2 separate regions of the Homo sapiens genome follow, and region 2 is linked to region 1. The links are contacts of gene promoters, found by promoter capture Hi-C in blood cells and fetal thymus (Javierre and others, 2016). All regions are on one chromosome and are shown on one strand. The core of a region is centred on a gene start or on the middle of the fragment in contact, and the rest is flanking DNA. Distances in the headings are between cores, read along the strand shown. Region 1 holds the start of ZNF354B (zinc finger protein 354B). Region 2 has its middle 73 kb from the start of RUFY1.

What was found. The method cuts DNA at HindIII sites, captures the fragments that hold promoters and counts their contacts. A CHiCAGO score of 5 or more calls a contact.
Region 2: a fragment that was not itself captured here is called in contact with the fragment with the promoter of ZNF354B in region 1 in 1 of 17 cell types (M0 macrophages); the score reaches 5.8 in M0 macrophages.

Annotation. Positions count from the first base shown.
Region 1 is chr5:178,857,342-178,863,182 of GRCh38, forward strand. ZNF354B (zinc finger protein 354B) reads left to right here and starts at 2,612. Exons shown (of 5, transcript NM_058230.3): 1 at 2,612-2,786; 2 at 3,656-3,739. The coding sequence starts at 3,707. LOC107986493 (a long non-coding RNA gene) reads right to left here. Exons shown (of 3, transcript XR_001743039.2): 3 at 5,384-5,692. RefSeq lists enhancers at 2,462-3,194, 2,479-2,678 and silencers at 2,819-3,018, 3,099-3,178. The HindIII fragment of the contact is 7,869 bases long and covers 1-5,841 here.
Region 2 is chr5:179,474,188-179,480,028 of GRCh38, forward strand. No RefSeq gene overlaps it. Among named protein-coding and RNA genes, the nearest start is that of RUFY1, 73 kb to the right of the region's middle. The HindIII fragment of the contact is 1,510 bases long and covers 1,727-3,236 here.

The sequences.
Region 1 (5,841 bases), core at 1,362-3,861:
AAACTCCTGGGCTCAAGCAGTTGTCCCACCTCAGCCTCCCAAAGTGCTGGGATTATAGGCATGTGCCACCACGCCTGGATAATTTTGTATTTTTAGTAGAGATGGGGTTTCACTATGTTGGTCAGCCTGGTCTGACCTCAGGTCATCCACCCACTTGGGCCTCCCAAAGTGCTGGGATTACAGGCATGAGCCACTGTGCCCAGCTGAGAAAGGATTTGTTTATTTATTTATTTGAGACAGAGTCTCGCTCTGTTGCCCAGGCTGGAATGCAGTGGTACAATCTCAGCTCACTGAAACCTCTGCCCTCCTGGGTTCAAGAGAGTCTCCTGCCTCAGTCTCCTGAGTAGCTGGGATTACAGGCGTGCCCCACCACGCCTGGCTAGTTTTTGTATTTTTAGTAGAGACGGGGTTTCACCATGTTGGCCAGGCTGGTCTCAAACCCCTGGCCTCAAGTGATGCACTTGCCTCAGCTTCTCAAAGTGCTGGGATTACAGGTGTGAGCCACCACACCCGACTGGAGGAAGGATTTTTATGGAAGACAGCAACACATTCGGCTTTGTGCTGAGAAGCAGAGTGTAGAAGAAAAACAGTAGATACTGGAAAAGGAGTCAAAAGCCATATGGTTTAGGGCCCACAACAAGGATTCTGGCTTTCACTCTAATTGCAAAGAGAAGACAATAAAACATCTCATTTTTGTTAAAAAATCTTTTTTACACCAGGCATAGTGGCTCACGCCTGTAATCCCAGCACTTTGGGAGGCCGAGGCGGGAGGATCACTTGAGCCTAGGCGTTTGAGACCAGCCTGGGCAACATAGTGAGACCCCGTCTCTCAAAAACAAAAACAAACAACAACAACAACAACAAAAAAAAACAGAAGCAGCAGCTTGTGGAAGTGTAGAGTAGTGTAGAGAGAGATAACAGGGCCTTGCACTGGGCAAGCAACCATGGAAGGACACCTGCAGTTCATGGCAACAGGGTGGGCGTGGCTCTACAAGTAAGGGACAGTTGTGCCATATGGAATTACCTATATGGGAAGATTGGTAATTAACACACAGGGAAATCACCATGCTACTTTCTTCTATGATTTTGACTATTTTAGATTCTACGTGTAAATGAAATAATGCAGTATTTGTATTTCTGTGCCTTCTTTATTTCACTTAACATAATGTCCTCCGGGTTCATCCATATTGTCACATATGTCAGGATTTCTTTATTTTTTTAAGGCAGAATAATATTCCTTTGTGTATATAAACACATTGTGGCCGGGCTCGGTGGCTCACGCCTGTAATCCGAGCACTTTGGGAGGCCGAGGAGGGTGGATCACGAGGTCAGAAGTTCAAGACCAGCCTGGTGAAGATGGTGAAACCCCATCTCTATTAAAACTACAAAAATTAGCTGGGCGTGGTCGCGGGTGCCTGTAATCCCTGCTACTTGGGAGACTGAGGCAGAGAACTGCTTGAACCTGGAAGGCGGAGGTGGCAGTGAGCCAAGATTGCGCCATTGCACTCCAGCCTGGGTGACAGAGCAAGACACCGTCCCAAACAAACAAACAAACAAAACATTTCCTTTATCTATTCATCCATCAACAGATAGTTGTTTCCATATCTTGGCCATGGTGAATAATGTTGCAGCTAACATGGGAGTGCAGGTATCTCACGGAGTTTCACTTCCTCTGGATCTATAGCCAGAAATGGGATTGGTGGATCCTAATGTAGCTCTAGTTATAATTTTTTGAGGAACCTCTATACCGTTTTCTGTAATGATTGTACCAATTTACATCCTTTTGATAGTGGCCATCCTAATGGAGGTGCAGTGATTTCTCATTGAGTTTGGGTTTATATTTCTCTTATACCTAGAGATGTTTACCATCTTTTTATATGCTTGTTGCTCATTGCTCATTTGTATATCTTCATTGGAGAATTGCCTATTCAAGTCCTTTGTCCATTTTAAAATCAGGTTATTTGGTTTTGTTATTGTTGTTGAGTTGTAAAAGTTCCATATAAATCCAGGATACATTGCAAATCAGATATATGATATGTAAGCATTTTCGTCTATTCTGTAGATTGCCTTTGTTTCCTTTGATTAGCCAAAGTTTTTAAGTTTGATGTAGTCCCATTTGTCTATTTTTGCTGTTATCTGTGCTTCTGATGTCATATTCAAGAAATCATTGCCATCTCCAACATCCTGAAGTTTTTTCCCTTTTTACTTTAGTAATTTATAAAATAATTTGGTCTCACATTTAGGTTTTTAATCAATTTTGAGTTAATTTTTATGTATGGTGTACGGTCAGGGTACAGGCTCATCTTTTGCACGTGGAAATCCAGCTTTGTCAACATCTTTTGCAGGGGATTTTCCTTTCCCAATTGTGTAGTAGTTGTTTTCGTGCCGCCCACGCCATCCTGAAATTCACACACAGAGTTGCAAGTTACTGCCCTCCGGGAACCTCCCCTTCTCTTCCGAAGAACCAGGAACCCGGGGCTCTACAGCTCACCCGGGCCCTCTCATAGGTCTGGGCGCCTAACAGCTCAGCTGCGACCTCGCCTCAAACGCGTGGAACTACACTTCCCAGAAAGCCAGCGTCCTCCCGTGGACTCCATTTCCTAGAGGCCTTAGCGGCCGCCTTGCTCCTCTAGGTCCCAGGCGCTCTGCGGAGCTTTCGCTGCCCGGTGAGCGGCGCCGGGCTTGAGGTCGCCCAGACGTCGGAGGAGCCGGGTCACGAGGCTGGAGCTTCCTGCTTGCAGAGTGCGGCGGGGAGGCGCGGCCCGGGAACGCGGGATCCTGGGGAGGTGAGCGGCATGGCTGGCTGTGCCGGGAGGAGGCGGCGCCTGGCGCCAGGGCGACCTGAGGCCGCGGGGCTCCGAGGGCCTCTGTGGGCGCGGGGGGGCACCCCCGCGTCTGTCACCGGCCCCCGCGCCAGGACTTGGACTCTCGCCCCTCACGGGCCGCTCCGGTGCCGCTGCCGACGCCCCTGCCTCTGGCTCGCGCCGCCCGCCGTGAACGCGGGGCCAGGCGTTTCCTCCCGGGCCCACCCTGCGCGCGCCGTGTGGGCCTCGCGGACTCGGGGCGCCGGGACCCCGAGCGCAGGGCAGAGGCAGCCGGGCCCGGTTTCTGAGTCAGTCCCCAGGACGGCCACTCCTCCTGCCTCGGGACACCCAGCGCTTTCCTCTTCAAAGCCGTTTTCCGTGGAGTCGGGAGACGATTCGTTGGCGGGAGAGAGAGGAACCGGCTGGGAAAGGCTTGAGGCGGAGGGAAGTCGTCCCGGGGCCGTCGTGGTGGGAGTCCCGGCCCGCCTCGCAGCGGCGTGAACGGGGCAGGTGCCCCGGCGCTGCCTCAGTTTCCTGAGCGGTGCAGTGGGTGCTGGCAGTGCCAGCTGGCGCCGAGGAACTCAGCGGCGTGGGGCGAGCCCTGGCCCTGGTGGGCTCAGCGGGTCGCTGCTGCCACTGCGGGTCCAGCGTCCCCTCCGTAAGCCCCAAGCCTGTGGGGCCTGGGCCTGGCCGGGCGGCCCAGCGCTGCTCTGGTCCGCGGGCTCCTGGCTCCTCCCGAATCCCTGTGAGGGCGCGCGGGGTCCTTCTCAGCGGGAGTCGGGGTTTTAGAGCTGCGGATTCCAGGGCTGGAAAGCAGAAGGGGTTCTTCCTGGCTCCCTTTTTCTTCTCAGATCTGCCTTCTGGAGACTGCGCCGTCCTCCCGGGAGAGCCAGAAAGAGGACATGGCTGCTGGGCAGCGGGAAGCGAGGCCCCAGGTGAGCTCATTGCCCTCCCAGATCCCAGTGGATGGATTTTCCCCACTAACTGGAGTTCTTCACCCGGGACCATCTCCAGCCAGGATGGAGCCCAAGTCCTTTTCTCTTGGAGGAGCTGGTCCGCCCTCATGACTGGTGGATTCTGTAGGGAGGACCACCCACCCTCCCCACCCGTGTCTAGTGGTTTTTAATTAACAGTTTGTTCACGAATCTTCATCCATTGTGTGACTAGTTTGACAAGTAAGATACCACAAGTCTGTCTGTCACTAAGAGCAAACGTACACACGTGGGAAAAATCCCTGCCTCCTCCACTCACCCATGTCTCCGTTCCTGTCCTTCGCAGGAATACTTTCTCTTTTCACCCCTGAGAATCCTCATAACACCACCCCTTCCCCAGGCTTCTCCAACGCATCGTTGTTAGTTTTTTGTCCCTCTTAACTTTGTGAATCATATTCTTTGCTTGTATCACTGTCTTGAAATCTATTGTAGACCGTTTTCATTTTTGTGTAGTGGGAATGAGGAGGCCACCCTTTCTAGTTGAGACGAGAGTGAACAGAGTTGGAGAGGTCGCTTGACTCGCAGGACACAGAAGACCCCTCAGCTAGCGGCAGGAAGGGTTTCATGGGATAGCAATAGTGCAGAGGCAGCGTAGGTGGTAGTTAGGAAGTAGGGCTGTTAAGCCAGATGGCAGCGTTTTAACCCATCTCCTCTGTTGCTGTTTGTGGGCCTTGGGCTTCACCTCTCTGTGCCTCAGTTTTCTCACCTGTAAAATGGGAATAACAGCCGTGCCCACCTCCCAGCGTAGATGAAGGGATCACATGAGTTAGTGTGTGGAAAGTGTTCGGATCAGGGCTGGGCACTGAGTAGTTACTGCTCAGCATATGGTGGTTGTGTTTGCTGAGTGACATTATTGTCTTAATATATTAATGTTAATGTTGGTAGATAGAAACTGCTGTACAATGTGTTTAGGACCCAGACGATGTTATCCTTTATTCATTTTTTTATCTAACAATACTAATGTCCACCGAGTGTCTAGCATACCAGGGAATGGGCTGAGGGCTTTACATTTGTTCTCTCACTCGCACAGTAGCACAACAATTACAATTCTTGTTTTACATGTGAGGAAACTGAGGCTCAGAAAAGTTAAGTAACCTGAGTACAGTCCAAGTATGCCTGGCTCTGAGTTCCGTCGGACCACCCAGTCGTCCCTGTGGTGCGTCTTTCAGAGTATGGGCAGATGCAGCCACGCGATACCAGAGTGCTTCTGCAGCGTGGCATTATCTTTTTTTTTTTTTTTTTTTTTTGAGAGGCAGTCTTGCTCTGTCACCCAGGCTGGAGTGCAGTGGCGCGATCTCGGCTCACTGCAACCTCCGCCTCCCTGGTTCAAGCAATTCCCCTGCCTCAGCCTCCTGAGTAGCTAGGACTACAGGCATGTGCCACCACGCCCGGCTAATTTTTTTTTGTATTTTAGTAGAGACGGGGTTTCACCATGTTGGCCAGGATGGCCTCAATCTCCTGACCTCGTGATCCACCAGCCACAGCCTCCCGGAGTGCTGGGATTAAAGGTGTGAGCCGCCGCGCCTGGCGGCGTTATCTTTTAAACTAGCCAAGACAGTGGAGTGGGAGCTGAGGGTGTGGCCAGAACAGGCTATTGTGCATTTGAGCTGGTATTTGTCCTCGAAGGCATTCCTATTCCATTCTCACAGAGCCAAGCTGCTCTCCTGACTAGAACCTTCTCCATCCCTGTGTGTGGGTGAGTCTCTGTGGCATCCTTCCTGTCTGTTCTTGCTTGCCATGCGTCAGTAATGTGTAGACCTGTGTGTAAAATTCAGTGAAGGGAATTTTAAGACCAGAGAGTGCAGAGTTCACAATTAGAAAACCGGAGTTATGATCTTGCTGCTACCTCTAGCAAAGCACATGACCTGGGATCTTGGCTGCCCTGGACCTTGTGTTCTTGTCTCAGGGCTCTATGCAGATACACAGTGGTTCAAATTATTTCATGCATTTTCTAGTCCGCCAGTCAGATTATACATTCTTTGAGAACAAAGATCATGTCTTGTACTCTTCCCCAATATGCAGATAATTTGATGCTCTTTTTCACC
Region 2 (5,841 bases), core at 1,232-3,731, 620 kb after region 1:
TTTCTGTTTATTTTTCTGTATTTCTTTATACAACTACAACAAGGAAATGCAAATATATTTATTCCTATTTTCCACTCTTTTCTTACAGAAAGGTAACATCATTGATACAGTATCTTGCACCTTCTTTTTTTTCTTACTATATCCTGAAGTAGCTCCTTATTCTTTCTTCCAGTTGTGTTTCATGTTTATTCAGCCAGCTCCCCATGGGCAGGCCCTTGGCTTGTTTCCAAGCTTTTACCATTACAAACAGTGCTGTAGTGTATAACCTCGTTCATGGGTCATTTTATACTCGTGAATATCTGTCTGTAGAATAGATTTTCAGAGGTAGGATTGCTGGGTCAAAGGATAAATACATTTTTTTGTTTGTTTGTTTGTTTTTTGTTTTTTTTGAGACGGAGTCTTGCTCTGTCGCCCAGGCTGGAGTGCAGTGGCACCATCTCAGCTCACTGCAAGCTCCGCTTCCCGGGTTCACGCCATTCTCCTGCCTCACCCTCCTGAGTAGCTAGGAATACAGGTGCCCGCCACCATGCCTGGCTAATTTTTTGTATTTTTAGTTGAGACGGGGTTTCACTGTGTTAGCGAGGATGGTCTCGATCTCCTGACCTCGTGATCCACCCGCCTCGGCCTCCCAAAGTGCTGGGATTACAGGCATGAGCCATCGCGCCCGGCCAATACATTTGTATTTTTTATAAGCAATGCCAAACTGCTCTCCATAAGGTTTGTACAATTTTGTATTCTCCACAACCAAACCTGTTTCCTCACAGCCACACCAACGATGTATTTTACAATTTTGGATTTTTGCCAAATTGAATTGCGCAAAATGATGTCTAAGGGCAATTTAATTTGCATTTCTCTTATTACAACTGGGGTTGAGCATCTCTTGATGTTTAAGGATCATTTGCATTTCATTCTGTATGAACTATTTCTTTCTTTTGCCCATTTTTTCTTTGTAGTCCTTGGTCTCTTTCTTAGGAAAGTAAAAGCTATCTTTATCTATTACTGCATGACAAACTACCTCAAAACCTAATGGCTTAAAGCGACATAATTTATTATTCCTCAGGATTCTGCGGGTCGAGTGGGCACAGCTGGGTGGCTCTTGCTCTACTTGCTACCAGCTGGGCTTACTCACTCGGCTACATTTGGCCGGCAGCTTGGCTGAGCTGGATGGTCCACCAAGCCTTCACTCACTTGTCGAGTGCCTTTGTGCTCGTCTGCATAGCCACGTCACCTCGGCTGGGGCCTCCTCACAGCGTGGTGGTCTCAGGGAAGTCAGCCTTCTTACATAGCAGCTGGCTTTCAAGAGGGAGGAAACAGAAGCTGCCAGTCCTCTTAAGGCCTGGATTCCAACGTCAGGAAATGTCACTTCTGCATTCCTTTGGTCATAGAAAGTCACAAGGTCAGCCCAGATTTAAGGAATAGGAAATAGACCCCACCTCTGGGTGGGAGAAGTGGTGTGGGCTGCAGGGAAGGAACGCACTGGTGGCCGTCGGGGCCAAAGACCGGGGATAGACGGGGAGAGCGGGGGCAGCCGCTGGCATCACCGTGAGCCTGTCTTAGCCCTTGGGGGCATCGTGAGGTTGGATTCTTTAAAGACAGGGCTCCGAGGGTTGGGAATCTTGAGGGCTATAACAATACTAAAAACTGAGGACACGCATACATTTCGTTGTGATTTTCGGTGGAGGAACTTAGTGAAGGTGGTGTTACGGGGTCGGGGAGAAAATGTAAAAGCTTGGCCGTGGGTGGGTTGGGGCCGACCCTTTCTCCCACCGGTTTATGGCTGGAGAAGGTGGGAGATGTCAACTCCATTTAGGGGACTGGAGGGACCTGGACAGTTTTGAAGGGGAATTTGAGAGTTGAATTTGAGTGTGCGCTTGTAAAGGACTCAACCCTGCCAGTCGCGGTTCAAGATCAGGGTTGGCTGTAGGTGGGAGGCCGTGCAGTTCCTGGGAAAGCTAACTCACCGCGGTGTCTTTTCTGTCTCACGCCGAGAAGAGCCCTGTTTGTGCTCCGCTACTGCCTGGAGTCTCCAGAGGACGCAAACGGGCGAGGGGATGTGTGGGGAGAAGTACTTGCTTTTTCTTGCTTTCTTCTTTACAGAATTTGTTCTTTTCCCACAAGGCCACTCTAGCCACACCAGGAGCTTTCTCAGAAGCAGTCACAATCTTTTTCCTTTTTTTGTTTTCAGACAAGGTCTCACAAATGACAAACAACAAGACAAATGACAAACAGGCAAAAAAAAAAAATCTTTTTTCTTCCAAGATAAAACCCAAATTGATTCAGCAGACATTTTGATTAGGAAATCCTATAAATCAGGACCACTCTTAATTTCAGACACTCCGTTATGAAGTGTACATCTACCTCTAGGGGATGAATAAGCCATTGAATCTTTTAAAAACTGGCTTTTTAAAAACTGTTGCCGAGGCTGGAGTGCAGTGGCACAATCTTGGCTCACTGCAGCCTTAAATTCCTGGGCTCAAGTGATCCTCCTGATTTAGTCTCCCTAGTAGCTGGGAGCACAGGTGCATGCCACCACCATGCTGGCTAATTTTTTTTTTTTTTTGAGACGGAGTCTCGCTCTGTTGCCCAGGCTGGAGTGCAGTGGCATGGTCTCGGCTCACTGTAACCTCTGCCACCCAGGTTCAAGCGATTCTCCTTCCTCAGCCTCCCAAGTAGCTGGGATTACAGGCACCTGCCACAGCGCCTGGCTAATTTTTGTATTTTTAGTAGAGACGGGGTTTCACCATCTTGGCGAGGCTGGTCTTGAACTTCTGACCTCGTGATCCACCCCCTGCTCGGCTACCCAAAGTGCCAGGATTACAGGCATGAGCCACCGCGCCCCGCCTAATTTTTGTATTTTTGTGTAGAGATGGGATCTCATTATGTTGCTCAGGCTGATCTCAAACTCCCGCCCTCAAGCAATCTTCCTGCCTTGGCCTCTCAAAATGCTGGGATTATAGACGTGAGCCACTGGGCCCACCTAAACAATCTCTTGAGCCTCTCTCCCATCCTCCCAGCCCAACTTTCTTATTCCATCCTTGCTGGTGTCTGTAGGAATGGACAAGAGACCCTGGATGTTTTTCTGCTCTGTGCTGGCCTCTGTGAAGCTGTGGGCCTCAGGCTCTGCACATCCTCCCCGTGCGGTTTGTCTCCTTCTCCCATGCAGCTGTTCTTTGTGACCGAAGCTGGTTTTAAAATGTGGCTTTCCCCGAGGAGAAATCACAGGCTTTGCCCTTTGAAGCTTAATGGTGTCTTACGAAGGTCCTACCCCCAAATGCGAAGGTAGCAAAGCCAGTTTTTAAGAGATTCAATGGCCTGTTCATCCTCCAGATGTAGATGTACGCTTCATAACGGAGTGTCTGAAATTAAAAGTGGTCCTGATTTATAGGATTTCCTAATTAAAATGTCTGCTGAATCAATTTGGGTCTTGTTCTGGGAAAGAAAAGAATTTTTTTGCCTGTTTGTCATTTGTCTTTTGACTTTGCTTATGTTTGTGTCTGTGTGTGCATGTGCACGTAGGGTTTTGTTGAACATTTTATTTGGAAACAATTATAGATTCACAGAAGTTGCAAGGATAGTATCGAGATGTCCCCATTTACACTTCACACAGTTTCTCCCAGTGACAATATCTTACATAACTATGGTACAACATCAAAACCGGGAAAATTGACATTGGTGCAATGTGCGTCATCTTTTTTTTTTTTCTTTTTTGAGACAGAGTCTCACTCTCTCGCCCAGGCTGGAGTGCAGTGGCGCGATCTCAGCTCACTGCAACCTCTGCCTCCCAGGTTCAACCCATTCTCATGCCTCAGCCTCCCGAGTAGCTGGGACTATACGTAGCCCGCCACCACACCTGGCTAGTTTTTGTATTTTTAGTAGAGAAAGGGTTTCACCTTGTTGGCCAGGCTGATCTCTAACTCCTGACCTCAGGTGATCTGCCCATCTCAGCCTCCCATAATGCTGGGATTACAGGCGTGAGCCACCAAGCCCGACCCAATGTGTGTCATCTTATCATATGTGTAGTTTCATGTAACTATTACAATCAAAATACAAAACTGTCCCATTGCCACAAAAATCACCCTTGGGAGCCACCCCATGATAGTCACCTACACAGCCATGTCCCCACCATCCCTAACCTCTGACAGCCACTCGTCTGTTTTCCATCTCTGTAGGGGGTGAATAGGCCTCCAAAAATGTATGTCCAGCTCCTAACCCCTGGAACTGTGAGTGTGACCTTATTTGGAAAGGGGTCCTTACAACTGTAATGAAGAGTCTCGAGTTGAGATCATCCTGGAGTCAAAGTGGGCCCTGAATCCAATGACAGCTGTAAGAAAAGGAAGAAGGACATTGGAGACAAAAGGCAAAGAGGAGAAGGCGATGTGGAGACGGAGACACAGGTGGCAGTGATGCGTCCAAAAGCCAAAGAAGGTCAAGGATTGCGGCAGCCACCAGAAGCCAGGAGAGAGGCATGAATCCAATTCTGTCTCAGAGCCTTCAGAAAAAACACTTCACTTAAACTGGTAAAAAGCAAAACCAAAACCAAACAAACAAAAACATTGACAAAGGGGAATCCACACGCACAGGGCATTAGAGCATTCAACAAATATGAGTGCCTACCGTATGCCAGGTGCTGGACAGAGCATTTGGCATACTTTAGTGAACAGGAAGGTGAAGGCCCTGCCCTTCAGCAGTGACTTGCTAATGGGTTGTTGTTTTTTCCGGGCTATTTTCTTTCTGCTATTCCGATTGGATAATATATATCATTGTACCTCCAAGTTCATGGATTTCTTTCCTCCATCCTCTCCATTCTGCTGTTAAACCCATCCATTGAGTTTTTATATTGTTATTCTATATTTTATCCTTACTTTTTTTTTTTTTTTTTTTTTTTTTTGAGATGGAGTCTCACTCTTTTTCGCCCAGGCTGGAGTTCAGTGGCGCAATCTTGGCTCACTGCAACCTCTGCTTCCTGGGTTCAAGTGATTCTCCTGCCTCAGCCTCCCAAGGAGCTGGGATTACAGGTGCACCCCACCATGCCCGGCTAATTTTTTTGTATTTTCAGTAGAGACGGGGTTTCACCGTGATAGCCAGGATGGTCCCAAACTCCCTCAGGTGATCCGCCCAGCTCGGCCTCCCAAAGTGGTGGGATTACAGGCATAAGCCACTGTGCCTGGCCTCATTTATTTCTTAATATCATCTATTTCTTTGCCTAGACTTTCTCCTTTTTCATTGGTTTCAAGCGCATTCATAATGTGCACATTGCACCATTTTATGACAGCTGCTTTAAAATTCTTATCAGATAATTCTAACATCTGTGTCATCTCAGTGTTCGTGTCTGCTGTCTCTTCTCATTCATGCTGAGACTCTGTCCCTACAAAAATTAAAAAATAATTAGCCGGGCATAGTGGCATGTGCCTGTGGTCCAAGCTCCTCAGGAGGCTGAGGCAGGAGGATCACCTGAGTGCAGGAGTTCAAAGCTGCCATGAGCCGTGATCACACCACGGCACTCCAGCCCAAGTTACAGAGTGAGACTGTCTCCGAAATAAATAAACAAATAAATAAAAATACACACATTTAAAATATTTGACTCAACTCGTGAATGAATGAAAAAATCAGTAAGCTACCACAACTAGTTTAAAGGAGAATTCAAAGAACAGAGACACCTATGGATCATGAAGTGGATGTATAAATATATATCAAATTGGCTCTTTTTTGGTAGGGTTTGCATTAGCTTCCTCTTGCTGCTATAACAAATTATCACAAATGTAAGTGGCTTAAAACAGCAAATGTATTGTCTTGCAGTTCTGGAGATGGGAAGTCCAAAGTGGGTGGACAGAGCAGAGTTCC